2 separate regions of the Homo sapiens genome follow, and region 1 is linked to region 2. Evidence: promoter capture Hi-C in 16 types of primary human blood cells and fetal thymus (Javierre and others, 2016). All regions are on one chromosome and are shown on one strand. The core of a region is centred on a gene start or on the middle of the fragment in contact, and the rest is flanking DNA. Distances in the headings are between cores, read along the strand shown. Region 1 overlaps ZNF202 (zinc finger protein 202). Region 2 holds the start of TMEM218 (transmembrane protein 218).

What was found. The method cuts DNA at HindIII sites, captures the fragments that hold promoters and counts their contacts. A CHiCAGO score of 5 or more calls a contact.
Region 1: a contact is called between a fragment that was not itself captured here and the fragment with the promoter of TMEM218 in region 2, in 1 of 17 cell types (total B cells). The highest score is 5.1, in total B cells.

Annotation. Positions count from the first base shown.
Region 1 is chr11:123,730,820-123,735,281 of GRCh38, forward strand. It overlaps ZNF202 (zinc finger protein 202), which reads right to left. Exons shown (of 9, transcript NM_003455.4): 4 at 1-166. The coding sequence starts at 69. Among named protein-coding and RNA genes, the nearest start is that of ZNF202, 8.6 kb to the right of the region's middle. The HindIII fragment of the contact is 2,341 bases long and covers 1,961-4,301 here.
Region 2 is chr11:125,109,533-125,113,968 of GRCh38, forward strand. TMEM218 (transmembrane protein 218) reads right to left here and starts at 2,094. Exons shown (of 5, transcript NM_001258244.2): 1 at 2,007-2,094. It also overlaps the pseudogene KRT18P59. RefSeq lists enhancers at 1,789-1,878, 2,234-3,146, 2,509-2,688 and a silencer at 2,349-2,418. The HindIII fragment of the contact is 1,270 bases long and covers 1,651-2,920 here.

The sequences.
Region 1 (4,462 bases), core at 1,881-4,380, 1.4 Mb before region 2:
CAGTTTCACCATCAGAATTCCCTCTTCTTCCCAAAGATCCTGGTCCTCTGGTTCCACGGCTGTAGCCATTTCTTGGCTTTGGGGTGGTCTCACACCATCTAGAGCTCACACTGTCATTAGCCCCCCGCCTCAGCCTGGACACAGCGAGGATTTTCTTCCAAGGGCCCTGGATAGAGAAGTAAAGACAAACAAGAGTATAAGCATGAAACTATACACAAGGACAACAGCCTGAGTTCAATCATAATCCTCTACACAAACTTCTTCAAATGGTTAAATCCTCTTTTCCCCAACCACCATAGCCATAAATCAACAGATCCAGTTGGGAGAGGATAATTTACAACTAAAGGTATGGTCCTCTACTCCCTTTCCTAGGCAAGGTTCATACTCTGCAAGAAAATACTGCATTTCCACTTCACAAATACTGCCAATTCCCCCGCTTAAGTCTCCAAACCGGTTCCCTTCTCTTCCTTCCTACAGACTGCTTTAGTTTGAGCCTTCATCATCTCCTGCCTGGACTACTGCTCTAACTTCCTAAGATCCCTGCAGTACTCAACTATAAGCAAAGTACAACAGAATTACCTGTGGAGATTTTGCAAAACATAGTATCACACATCATTTTTCAGACACTCTGATTCAGTCAATTCAGGTAACTGTATGTTTAGAGATGCTACTTGCAGTTCGAATGTGTATCCATGGTTGAGAAACACCAACCATGAGGGAGATGTGTAAGGTTATGAGCGAAAGTTCTGGAGTCAAGCTGCCTGGGTTTGAATCCTGGCTCTGTCGCTTACTAGGTATTTCCAGAGTGGGACCATAGGCAAGTTCTCATTCTCCTAATGCCAGTTTCTCTGTCTATAGAAGGGAGATAATAATGGTTTTTATCTAATAGGCTTACTGTAAGGATTAAATGTATTACTAAAGCCTATGAGCATTAAATGTATTACTATCTTTGCTTAGAAGAGTGATGGCACCAGCTATTATCTTTCTAAATTATAGTTCCAACTATATTACTCAGTATTTTAAAACAAAACCTTTTTCATGTTAGTAAAATCAGTTCCAAAATCCTGGGAATGACACGAAGCTCTTTACAATCAGCCCCCAATCTATTTTTCAAGCTTCAGATCCTACCTTTTCCCTGTATCACCTGGTTATAAAAAATGCATTGCTGATCTCCCTACAACAGGGTGTCTTTTCAGTCTTCCATGTCTTTTTGAAGGTTGTTCCTTCTGCACAGGCTACTCTCCACCCTTCTCCTTTCCACGCTACATGGTGTGTTCTCTTTCTTTTTAACGGGTCTTGTCTTTATTCCCACAATTTACAGCTTAGGTCCCTCTCACTTCTCATCTGGATGACTGCAACTGCCTCCAAATGTGAGCTATCTGCCTCCAGATTTGTCACCTTCACGTACCCACTATGATCAGAACGAGCTCTCTTGGCAAACGTGCTCATGTCCCTTTCCTATCTAAGATCCTTCCATCACTCCCCGCTGTCTTGTTAAGTGAAATACAAACTTCAAACATTCTACATTAGGTTGACGTTCATCTTGTTATTCTCTTCGCCCTCCTCTCCAATCCTTTCAGACACACACGCACACACGTGTGTACATGCAAAGCACACAAGAGTCCCGTGTTCTTTAGCTTTTGAATATGCTGTTTCTTCTGATTCTTTATCCTTGGTTAGGTTAAACTTTAAATTTTTCAAGACATAAGCTCAAGCTTCATGTCTTCTGAGATGTTTTCTTTGATCCCATTTCCCCTACTCTCAGACATAGTTAGAAATCACCTAAGTCCTCCCGTAGTGACCTGGGCACCTCTCTATCCCAGTATTGGTCATATTACATAGCCATCGCTCATCTTTCCTGTGAAACTCTTTGAGGTCAGAGACTATTTTCCATCAATCTCCAATACCTATAATAAAGTGCACAATAAATGCATTTAAAATGAATAAAACTCTACTCCAAAGCTTCTTCCTATGGTAACAGGAAGAACCATTGTTTCCTCCATTATGCTTTTACTATCTCTTGATTATTCACCATATCCTGTTAATTCCAACTTCCAAAAAATGTCTTTCGAATCCATCCATCTCTTCATCTCTACTGCCATTTCCCGGTTGAGCCATTATGACCCACTAGAAGGTATTCATAGGAACTTTAAAAAAAATTACAATATCCTCTGCTCCTAAACGGCACTGGCACGTAACAGGCACGGATACATTGGAGAGATGACTTAGTTCAACCTCCATGACTGGTTTTCTTGGTCCTGTCCCCCTCCAGACCAGTGTCCACAAGCAGCTTAAGGGCTCCATCATTTCTCAACCTTTTTGTGCTATACTACAGTTGCCTCACATCCACATTCAAGGTTATCGATCCACTCTTAATAGCTGTGTCTCATCTATTGTTGCCCATCAAATGAGTTTACAGTCAATGATCACATTATCTTCATTCTTTCTCAAAACGCTTCTAATTCATGCTCTTATGACATTTTTTTCATTACCCTCAGTCACTTGCAACATACTTTCACAGTCTATCTTGGATAGCTCCCTAATTCCTAGATCTTCATGTGTAATTTTTCCTCTGCTATCTCTACCTCATGGTGATTTATTTTTTTCTCAAGTGGCTTGTAATTTTTTTATTTTATGTCCATCTTTTTACTTTGGGAGTCCTGAGAGCCCTGGATTTAAATGTGAGCCCCTTGAATGTAATTTCATTTGTTTCTTCCTAAGTGCTAATGGTTTCAATGATCTTGGACAGTTTGCTTTTTTAAGACTCTCCCTCTGTTGCCCAGGCTGGAGTGCAGTAGTACAATCATAGCTCACTACAGCCTGGATCTCCTGGCCTCAAGTGATTTTCCAACCTTGGCCTCCCAAAGCACTGTTACCAGAGGCTGAGCCACCATGCCTGGCCAAATCAGTTTTTATGTTAATTTCTCAGGGTGTTCCTGAATAATGCTTTTGTGTATTATTTAGATCGATGCCTTCAAGTAATGTTTGGCCTACCCAAGGTTCTGGAGAACCCACTTCCTTGCACTTTTCCTGGGTCAGTAGGACGATTTTCAAAGGTCCAGGTTTGCAGGCTGCTTAATTCTGTAACTTTCACACAGCGTCAGCTTCCCAAGTCCTATCTCCCTGTTGGAGTACCAGTATTAAAAGCTCAATCCCTAGAAACCTTATTTTGGTTTGGAATCTCACTGCGCCATGGTAAAGTCAGCTTATACTTATTTTTCTAGTGGTTATTTCTTTTTCCTTCTGGAACCTATGCGCTTTCCTTTAGCTTTTGAGAGAGAGAGACAGAGAGAGAGAGAGAGACAGACACACAGGGAGAGACAGACACACAGGGAGAGACAGCATGGGCTGTCCTGTTCCTGACAGGAACAGGATTTAATAATGGGCAGGAGGCCCATCCACATTAGCTCCACCTGCAATACTCCAAGTAGGTGAGTGGTGAACTTCCTAACATACAAAATCTGCCAATGGCTTCCCAGTGACCTTAGGTTAAAATTTAAACTTCTTAAAATGTGATACACAAAGACCTTCAAAAGCTGGTCCCTGCTACCTCTCCTTCCTTCCATGACTGCCACTCCCATTGAAAGCCACTGCAAGAATTACTGTTCTTTCTTTTCTATACCCTCCCTGGGCTTTCCTGATGCTGTTCACCTTGTCTGAAGTACCCTTCTCCACTCTTCATGTGGTTAACTCTATCCATCTTTCAGAGCTCAGTTTTTCCAAGATGCCTTCCCTGGTCCTCCCAGATGATGCTTCCACAGGAACTTGTATCTCCCCCTATCACAGCATGCACATGTGTCTATTTTTTGTGTCATCAAAACTGTTCATCTTCTGTTGAACTCACTGGACTGTAAAGCTCTGAGGGCAGGGATATGCTGTGCCCAGCTCGATGCCTGGCACACACCAGGCACTCACTTCACATTTGATGAATGCAGAGAATGCTTAGTAAGGTTTTAAAAGTCTGTTTCCAGAAGGATAGATACCATGTTATATTAACCCATATTCATCCATAAGTCTAGCAAACTGTGTGCTGGATAAAGGCATACATAGGGAAAAAAACATTTATTGTTTGGATTGTGAGTAAAACAGAATTCTCTTAGTGGTTCCCAAGATGATGGAACCACAACTCATCACAAGGAATCTTCAGGTTGCACCGGGAATAATCCAAATGCAAGTCACACAACACTTGGCATTTGAAAAAAAAAAAATCATTTTCCATTGAGGATTTAAATCAATTTTAATAAGCGCAAAATCAGACATCAAATAAATGGAACTACAATACTAATTATTTATCCAGACAAAGCTTTCCAAACCCCACCCCAACTCCTACCCCTGGAAGACAGAATTAATACATAGGGTCTTTTGGCTTAATAAAAGGACTTCTAGTATCTTAAAAGTTTGAGAACCGACGTCCAGTGAAGTAGACTTGGAATCCTCATTGTTTTCACGCAGCACTAGGTAC
Region 2 (4,436 bases), core at 844-3,343:
TACCCAATGTACTATTTTCTGTTTTTAAATTTTTCGTGATAATTTTTAATTTTTAAAAAGGTAATGGGCAGCAGGATGCATATGAATTGGGTGACCAGTTAGGAAACTATTGCAATTCTCCAGATAAGAGATGATGAGGGTCTGACCTCCAGTCTTAGCTGTGTCAAGGGAGAAGGTGTTAGAAATGACACAAGTTTCTAGCTTAGTTGACTGAGCTGATGGTACTGCTCTTAAGAAAACAACTATTTAAATTTAATTTGTGCTATTCTGGATATTACACAAATAACCCAGAAGACTTGGACCAACTCTAACAGTTAGAATAGAGGGCAAATGGTAGTTGAAGCTGGCTGGCGCCATTAGAAATGTTGCCCTTCAATCCCCCTTAGTAGCTTAAGAGTTCGTGAGACATTGGATTTATATATGGTATGGCTTTAAAGTAATAAGATAAATATTCCCAAGCTCTTTTAAGAATGGAGCTCATAATTTTATAAGCAAACTATACATTTTCTTACTAAGCATAGAAAAGAAGGGCTGGGTATAGTATAGAGTGCTGCTATAGAGGAAGAGAGAACATCTAGTCATTTTTATCTTATTTAAATGTGAGAATAATATCTGTGATAATTTCCCATATTAGAATAGCTAAATTATTGTTATTGAGTACAATACAATAAAATATAAAAACGGGTTCATGCCATCATTAAACCTTCTTTGAGAAGTGATGGCTTGGCCAACCCGATTTCAAGGGTAAGTCCATTTACTTAATATCTGTGGCATTTAAAGCAGGTAGACTGGAGTGAAAAAAAATAATTTAAATTTGAACAGTTCAGCAGCTGACAACAAAAGCAACTACAGGGCTAATGTTTTCCTTCTGTGCTCAATGCTGTGAGGTTTTTCTCTGAGAGAGTTTGTTCAAAACCTTTTAGATGTGTGTGTTCATTTAATGGTTGTTTCTACATACCCTTTCATCCAGCTGTCAGAGAAAATAGGAATAAATGGACTGATCCCTGCACAGGTAACCTAATGGATTAAAAATACGGTACTCATCACCAGGTTGATCATCATGAGCGAGAATACTAACTGCCATTATAAGATGACTTATAAGATGACTTACTATCTAAGACAAATGTGGATTCCTCAGAGGGTAATGTGGCCTAAGTGCTGCTGCTGGAGGGAGATATCTCACCCATCCCCCGATTTTCACACTGACTCAAGCCCTTGAAAGCAACAGAAAACAGTGGGTTACAAGGAGTGAAGTGCTCCTCTGGAAGAGTCCTTTTCACTTTGCTTTATAGCTGTTTTCCAAACCTTCAAAAATAACGGGGGGGGGGGGTTACTTTCACACTTTTATGTTTCTACTTTAAACACTTCACTATCTTTTGAATTTTAAAATATTAGAATAACGCCTCTACCTTTGTAATTAGATAAAATGCAAGCCTGGGGAAAAAATCAGTTGCCAAGCTCCCAAAATGCCACCGATGTAGCATCTGCTCTTAACACGTTGATAGAAAAAGGAGGATCAGTAAACCTAGGTCTCTTCCTTGCATCCCTCTCCTGGACGGTGTTGTGGGTTGGAAGCGCTGCAGAGCCTCGGTCTATCCGCTCTCTGGATCTCACAGCACTGCAGCCTGGGAACACCCCACTTGAACTCTAAGCTTCTCCCCAACCCTGTTGCAGATTCAAACTGGCGACAGGAAAACAATGCCCCCCATGTCTCGTCTTCAGAATGTGCACCTGGCCACCTCCCAGGAGCTAGAGAGGGATTAAGGTCTCGGTCATAAGAGATCTGAATCAGGCACTGACACTTCCTTTTCTTAAGAGCATGAAACAAAACAGTCCTTCCTTCTCTGCCTCCAATTAAGTATTTATTAGCCGGGCCTTGGGTCCAGATCAGCGGTAAGGGTGGTCTGCGAGGTCCGTGCACCGCCGTCCGCCCACGCCTTCTTCCAACCACCTCAGCCCGACCCTCCACTTTTCTCCCTTCCCCGCAGCCGCCCCGCTTTCCTCACCTCTGCCCCCTTCACCTGGATCCACTCTCCCCCAGGCTCTACTCACACCTCAGATTCCGGCGCGTTCCAGCCCACGGGGCTCTGGTTTACTTAGGGCGAATCACAAGTGGGCTTTCATTTAGGTGATTTAAGATTCACTAATCAGCGTTGCTCTTTCAACGGCCAACTTCTTCCTCATTAGCTTACGCCTAGCGCGGCTCCCGGCAACGCCGAGCGCGGTGGGTTGGCTCGTCACCCTTCGTTACGCCCTCCGATTGGTCGGTGCCTGTCAGCCTTTGGACCGACCTCAGTTCGGTTGGGTAGCAGCGGTCCGAGCTGCACTCCCCGCCCCCCCGCCACTCCACTGTCAATCACACCATCTCTCCGTAACTCATTGGGCCATTGGTCAGTCTAGCCTGAGGGCGGGTTGTTGGGCGGAAGAGAGAGACTTCTTCCGGCCTCACTCGCTGTCACCATAGAGATTGCCCATCCAGGCAGCGAAGCAGCAGGGCCAGGCAGCTCAGATCTCGAACTCCAGAGAACTGCACAGTCATCTAGACATCAATGCCTTTTCCGGGGCCTGATGAACATCTCAATCCCCAACCCACTAGCTCGAGTGGGGCGCAAGATGTGGTGGACAAGTCAGCTCAGGCCCGGTCATTAAGTGTCCCCAACAACCCTCCTGGAGGGAACTGAGGACGAAGCACCAGTTGTAATAACGGCACGCTTCATTTATCTTTATCTCGACTTGTTTTATTTGGTATTTAATTCTTCCATTAGCCTTGCGAAACAGACAAAGGCAAAGATCATTCTACCCACGGGACAGACTGGGGAAGAGGCCCAGGGTCCATCAAGTAAACCCTCTGCCGCCAGGCTGCTGGAACTGGAGCTGGCCCACGCTATTGGCAGACTGCTGTTACCTAACTGCCAACTAAAGCTTGCCATGACTTTGCTTTGAGGCTATGGCCTGTTAGACCAAAAGATGCATCAATCAGGACAACCAAAGGAAGTAGGACAGAGGCTGCGTGCTCCACCACTGAATCAAGAAGGGGAAACAAACAATAATCAATACCAAATTGGAGAGCTGCACCGTTTGAACCTTTGACCTTAAACAAAATTTTAAGAAATATCATGAAGCAACCTATTCAATCTTAGAGCACTGAATCTCTGATTTAAGGAATTCTCCTGAATCACAGCTTTATGAACCAAAAAGAAGAAGATGCTTGAATTTCATCAACTGCACGTCTCAAATTTATTCAACTTTCGAGGCTTCATTTACAATCACATAAAGTAACCAATGATTTGTTGTGCGTTTAGCAACTTAACATTACTTGGCCCAGTGAGAAGCTCTGTGGCTAAGAAATCCTTTATTTTGATGAATTCATTTCACTGGAACTGAGTGTTGACTGCAGCTATGTTCTGTTAGGAACTGCGAAGATATACAAGAAATGAGATGTGACTCCCATCTTAATAGCCCGTGGTTTTGTAATGTTAGGTCAACAACACATGAAACAAGTAGGAAACACTTTAAAGCAAGATATAACAATGGGCCAACCCTATTGTACAATTAATTTCTCCAAAATATAATAATACTTCATATTTGCAGAACATTTCGTAGTTTCCAGAGCACTTCTTCCCTTGTATTATTTGGGGGATATTTTGTTATGGCTGGAATTAATGTGTGTGTCTTTATCATAGAGCTAGAACTAATGCTGGGTCCTAGCATATGAGTAGGAACAGGAAAGGTGGAACAGAATCCAGGAGGAGAAAGTAGTTTGAGCAAAGAGGCCAAGGCAAGAATGAGCACTGAGTATCTGGAGAATAATATGGAGACAAATGATGGAAAGTAATGTGTAGACAAGCTGGTCAGAACTGGCTCTGAGACCTTAATATTTTGGAGGAAAGTGGTCAAAAGTTCAAAGTTTGAGATTGGAAAAGTTAACTTCCTTACACTTCTAATGATCATACTGGCTTCAGTTAAGCTATAAATTAAAAATGGGCATGGCTCAACAGAACTTGAGTCCTGTCCTCTCGCTTTTCTCCTTAGGCAGCATGAGCTTCACCATTTGCTTTACCACCTCCACCAACTACCAGTCCCTGCATTCCATCCAGCCACACAGCCACAGCGTCCAGTTCATCAGCAGCACAGCCAAAGTCTATGCAGTCCTCAGGGGCTTGGGCTCCCGGACCTCAGTGTCCTTCTCCACCAGCTTCTGGAGTGGCTGGGGGTCTGGAGGCCTGGCTGCAGGGATGCCAGGGGTCTGGAAGGAATGGGGTACATCCAGAATGAGAAGGATACCATGCAAGGCCTGAATGATTGCCTGGATTTCCTACCTGGACAGAGTGAGGACTCTGGTGACCAAGAGTCAGAGGCTGGTGAGCAAAATCTGAGAGCACTTGGAGAAGAAGAGACCCCAGGTCAGAGCCTGGGGGCATTACTTCATGACCATC